Regions from separate parts of the Homo sapiens genome. Here region 2 is linked to region 1. The links are contacts of gene promoters, found by promoter capture Hi-C in blood cells and fetal thymus (Javierre and others, 2016). All regions are on one chromosome and are shown on one strand. Each heading gives the region's core, a stretch centred on a gene start or on the middle of the fragment in contact. The rest is flanking DNA. Distances are from core to core; before and after follow the strand shown.

What was found. The method cuts DNA at HindIII sites, captures the fragments that hold promoters and counts their contacts. A CHiCAGO score of 5 or more calls a contact.
Region 2: a contact is called between a fragment that was not itself captured here and the fragment with the promoter of EMC7 in region 1, in 7 of 17 cell types (total B cells, monocytes, naive CD4 T cells and 4 more). The highest score is 7.5, in total B cells.

What each region holds. Positions count from the first base shown.
Region 1 is chr15:34,100,611-34,103,310 of GRCh38, forward strand. It overlaps EMC7 (ER membrane protein complex subunit 7), which reads right to left and starts at 1,252. Exons shown (of 5, transcript NM_020154.3): 1 at 994-1,252. The coding sequence starts at 1,229. It overlaps PGBD4 (piggyBac transposable element derived 4), which reads left to right and starts at 1,473. Exons shown (of 1, transcript NM_152595.5): 1 at 1,473-2,700. The coding sequence starts at 1,922. RefSeq lists enhancers at 396-1,253, 863-1,562, 1,593-1,682. The HindIII fragment of the contact is 6,792 bases long and covers 1-2,700 here.
Region 2 is chr15:34,242,709-34,245,408 of GRCh38, forward strand. It overlaps SLC12A6 (solute carrier family 12 member 6), which reads right to left. Exons shown (of 26, transcript NM_001365088.1): 15 at 2,577-2,695; 16 at 1,266-1,364. LOC124903461 (a long non-coding RNA gene) reads left to right here and starts at 418. Exons shown (of 2, transcript XR_007064576.1): 1 at 418-1,233; 2 at 2,544-2,700. The HindIII fragment of the contact is 4,431 bases long and covers 1-2,700 here.

The DNA.
Region 1 (2,700 bases), core at 2-2,501:
TATTAATCTGAGGTTGAATAACCACTCAAGGGCACTTAGATGATCTGAACAAATATGTAAATCAGATTTGGATTTAAATGTCTACATTTAAGTTGTCTGATTTTCAGATACCATTTGCTGGTGTACGAACCCACCAAAGGAAATACTTCCTAATTATTTGCTTTCAGTTTACAGTTTCACCTCCAAGTAAGGGTGGAAAGATTTAAAACAACATACGCGTGCCTAGACATTTCAAAAGCAGGCTGCTGCAAAACTAGTGCTAACAAATTCATCCTGTCTTTTAATATAGACAGAAAACCCACTTCCACTAATAGCATGAAAGGACAGAAGCAAGAAAGCAATGTAGAGGAACCCTAGTCTCACATAAATGACAAGTGTGATATAGCAAATCTCTCGATGAATTCAACTGTAAAAAAGAACAACGATCCCACCCCCAAGCAAAAAAAAAAAGAAAAAAAAAGTGCTTTGATTAGGGATTTCAGAGCCTATTAATTTTAGAAGCAGTAACATTAGCCTCCCAGTCTATGTCGTCACTAGAAGCCCTTTGGGTTTTGAGAATTCCCACTTGTGTCGCATCTTTCTACATAATAACAAGCTACCAAAAGACTGAAGTGAATGCAAAAAACGACTAGGTTCTAGGGAAACCAGATGAGATATAAAAGAATCCAACAAGAGACTAATAAGGGTCCACCTGTCCCCAGGGCCCAGGAATGATCGTCCCCACATGGGGCCAAAATAAGGTTGGAAATAACTGACTCCATGCTCTGACCATGGCAGGGGGTGAGCGCCTGCCATGCTCATTCCAGAGGTACAGGACCAGGAAAGGGAAAGCATCCGACTGCCTCCCAAGGTCTCCCGGCATAGACCGTTAGCGGCACCCTCCCCTTCAGTCTGAGACAGCGACGTTGTCCCGTCCTGACACTTAACTCTCCTGGTGGGGTCCCTGTCCGGCCTCCATCCCAGCCTTTTTCCCGCTGCCCTCAGGATGCTCACTTAAGGAAACCGACGTGCTCTTCTCCGTCTACCAGCACTCGGGCCGCCGAGATCCAGTCCTGAGGCTTCACCCCTGGAACAACTGCACGCCCCTCAATCTTGAAGCGATCTCCTATGCCGACCCCACTCCCTCCCGATCCCTCAGCAGCAGCCCCGGGCACCTCCGAGCTCTGGACATCCCCCGATAGCAGCAGCAGCAGCAGGACGGGAAAGAAGCCCCACAGAGCGGCCGCCATGACAGCAGCTCTGCACTCAGACCGGCAGCCCCGGAAGCCCTCCCAGTCTCCCGGCCGCCACCGCCGCCGCTGGCGGCTTGATGTTGTCATCACTGCGCGCCCGTTTCTGTCATAAGCTGTGGGATCCAACCAGAGGGAAGAGATCATGGCCGATCGACTAGCGAGGCGGAAGTAAGGCGGAAGTACTGCCCTTAACTCCCGGCACTCTGGATTGGAAGACGGCGCACAGAGCCTGTGTCAAGTGCCTATGAAGGGGACTGCCCATGAAGTGAAAGTCAAGTGTGTGTTGCTGCGGCAGCCACGGAGGCCAAGGACCTCACGGGAGTAAAAGATGACGAGACTGGCTTCGGGAGAAACACCATCCAGAAGAGACCTTTCAAAAAACTTCTAGAGACTCCCCAAGACGTATGAGATGAAAGGCTTCTTCTGTCTGTGTGCGTTTAACTCATTTCTCCTTAGCCCCGAGATTACGCGCTGCTGTGCCTGCGACTGCAGCGTTTACGCCGAGATAACTCGTGGATTACAGTGCCAACCTTACTCCCAAAGTTTGCCACGAAATATCTCGCTTCTGTTATTTTCGCATGGTTCTGGTATATTGACTTTTGAAACAAAAGACATCATTCTGTTTATAGCATTCTGTTTTTAGTAGTGGGATTTCCATCTACAAAATATAGTAATTCTCGATCGCTGAAATGTCAAATCCTAGAAAACGTAGCATTCCTATGCGTGATAGTAATACCGGTCTCGAACAGTTGTTGGCTGAAGATTCATTTGATGAATCTGATTTTTCGGAAATAGATGATTCTGATAATTTTTCGGATAGTGCTTTAGAAGCCGATAAGATCAGGCCTCTGTCCCATTTAGAATCTGATGGAAAGAGCTCTACATCAAGTGACTCAGGGCGCTCCATGAAATGGTCAGCTCGTGCTATGATTCCACGTCAAAGGTATGACTTTACCGGCACACCTGGCAGAAAAGTCGATGTCAGTGATATCACTGACCCATTGCAGTATTTTGAACTGTTCTTTACTGAGGAATTAGTTTCAAAAATTACTAGAGAAACAAATGCCCAAGCTGCCTTGTTGGCTTCAAAGCCACCGGGTCCGAAAGGATTTTCGCGAATGGATAAATGGAAAGACACTGACAATGACGAGCTCAAAGTCTTTTTTGCAGTAATGTTACTGCAAGGTATTGTGCAGAAACCTGAGCTGGAGATGTTTTGGTCAACAAGGCCTCTTTTGGATACACCTTATCTCAGGCAAATTATGACTGGTGAAAGATTTTTACTTTTGTTTCGGTGCCTGCATTTTGTCAACAATTCTTCTATATCTGCTGGTCAATCAAAGGCCCAGATTTCATTGCAGAAGATCAAACCTGTGTTCGACTTTCTTGTAAATAAATTTTCCACTGTATATACTCCAAACAGAAACATTGCAGTTGATGAATCACTGATGCTGTTCAAGGGGCCATT
Region 2 (2,700 bases), core at 201-2,700, 140 kb after region 1:
TTAGCATAACTGCAGAACTCACTGAGAAAAATTATTTTTGGGCCGGATGCGGTGGCTCACAGCTGTAATCCCAGCACTTTGGGAGGCTGAGGCGGATGGATCACAAGGTCAGAAGACTGAGACCATCCTGGCTAACACGGTGAAACCCTGTCTTTACTAAAAATACAAAAAATTAGCCGGGTGTGGTGACGGGCGCCTGTAGTCCCAGCTACTCGGGAGGCTGAGGCAGGAGAATGGTGTGAACCTGGGATCTCAGCTCACTGCAACCTCCGACTCCCGGGTTCAAGCGATTCTCCTACCTCAGCCTCCTGAGTAGCTGGGATTACAGGCATGTGCCACCATGCCCGGCTACTTTTGTATTTTTAGTAGAGACGGGGTTTCCCCATGTTGGTCAGGCTGGTCTCAAACTCCTGACCTAGGTGATCCGCCTGCCTTGGCCTCCCAAAGTGCTGGGATTACAGGCATGAGCCACCACGCCCGGCCTCATAAAGAACTTCTAACTAACATTAAAGCTAGAAAGAGGATTTGAGGCATTAAAAATCAGTTGAAGATTTTAATTTTTGCCCAGTAAACGTTACATCACTGCCCACCATTGGTAAGTGAAGACAGAAAGGGAACAAGGAGAAAGTTAGCAAAGAAGAATGTAGCAACGGGTACATACAGGACATAATTAATGAGCTCTGAGCTATAAGAGGAAAGAGATGGGATGGTAGCCAAAAATCTTTCATGATGACCCCTTCAGGACTGGGGAGACTTAACTACAACAGCAGCAGCAGCAACAGTTCATTGAGAGCTGAGCTTTACTATGTATCAGGCACTACGATAAGCACTTTAGATTTATTAGTCCCATTTTACAAATGAATAAAATTAAATTTTACATGGTTATGTGCTTTGCTGAAGGTTACAAAGCTAGGAAATAGTAGAGCTGAGATTGGAATTTAGAACCTCTGACTCTGTAACCCTAAGAGACAAACAGGAAAATAAACATGCAAGAGAAGGTTGTTTTAACCTGAAAATTATAGAAGGCTGGATATCTCTATTTAGTGCTTTTGCTCTATTCGTATTGGGTGTTATAAGTTATTATAAAGTGATATAGGAAAATAGGATAGGAGGATGAGGATTCAGATAAGAATTGAAAGTTGAAACAGTATGAAATGGCTGACCAAGAAAAAAATTTTATCGAGAACCCAGACTCTCCTAGTTTTCTAGTTCAAAGATGGGTTCTCTCCAAACGTGAGTAAAAAGAATAAAAGAAGCAGACTTACCAATGGTAGTAGCGGAATCGGGGTCTCCAGTTGGGTGTTCGAAGTAATGTTTGCAAGGCACATGCCAAGTTTACAAAGAGGTAACACATGAGAAAAAACCTGAAGAATAAAGAGTAAGAGGAATGATTATTACTGGAAGATGATTCTTTGAAGGTTAAGTAACTGAATACCTTTGCTGTATTGAAGCCTGTTTCTAGACAACTAACCCTTGATTAAGTAGGAAGTAGGGAAACTTAAACCTCTCCCCACAAAACTGTTCATCCTTCTCTGTTCTCTCAGTCAATGACACAACCACTCTTTACCCAGTTGTTCTTAGGATAATCCAGGTTTCCTCTTCCTTACCCTTGTTCCAAATTCACTTACCAAGTCCTATGGATTCTATTTAAAAATCTCTTAAGCTGCTTCTCTTCCTTTTCATCTCTACTACTAATCACCTTAGTTCAGGCTCTCATTTCTTCTTTCCAATTAGCATTCCCAGCTCAATTCTAGCCTCCTTCTAATCCATCTTTTATACAAGATTGATCATCCTAAAGCATTATCATTTTGTGCTCAAGGATTACCCACTACTTCCAGGTAAAAGTTCCAGGACCTTTGTGATCTGGGTCTACCTACTTCTCTATTCTGTTATTCCCTCAACATGTACCCTCCACTCTAGCCAAGCCAAACTACTTCCAGTTCTCTGGATGTGCTACCTTATGCCATCCCTCAATTCCTTTATATGCATTCTCTGCCTGGAATGTTCTTCACCCCTTATTTTCTTAGCAAATAACCAGTTATTCTTCAAGATACAAGTATCACTTCCTCCGGAAAATCTTTCTTGAGTTTCCATCTGTTTAGATGCCTTGCTCTGGTGTTCCTAGGGCACTCAGTGTTCACCTTTATCATGGCACTCATCACGCTATATGGGAATCATTGGTTTCCTTATCCATTATCAGTTCCATAAGATTGTGTCTTATCCATCTTTGTATTCCCAGAATACCACATTACACAGTGCCAGGTAAGTAGTAAGCATCAATAAGTCATAGGTGAATAAATAAATAAAAACTAACAGTGGTGGTAAAAGCTACAACCAATTGACAATGAATTAGAAATGAAGCCAAAGAACTTTTGAAGTTAAATAGGTAGGAAAAAACCTAATAACTTACAAAAGTTAGCCTTACTTGGAAGTTCTCAGGAATGATTTTTATTTAAGTGAAGTTACATCTGTATTTAGCCCACTCTGTTATCACTACTGTTATATGACTGATGGAAATAAACATGCATTATTTATCATTTAAGCAAGAATAACTGAAGAGAATCACTGGCTCTTACATGGAAAGAATTGGGGCCACAAGATCCAGGGAGGCAATGAGTATTCCAAGCTCTGCAATGGCAGCAGTTAGAAGTAAAGCCCAGGTAGGTTCCCCATTGGCTTTGCTGTGGCCAAAAACCTGTA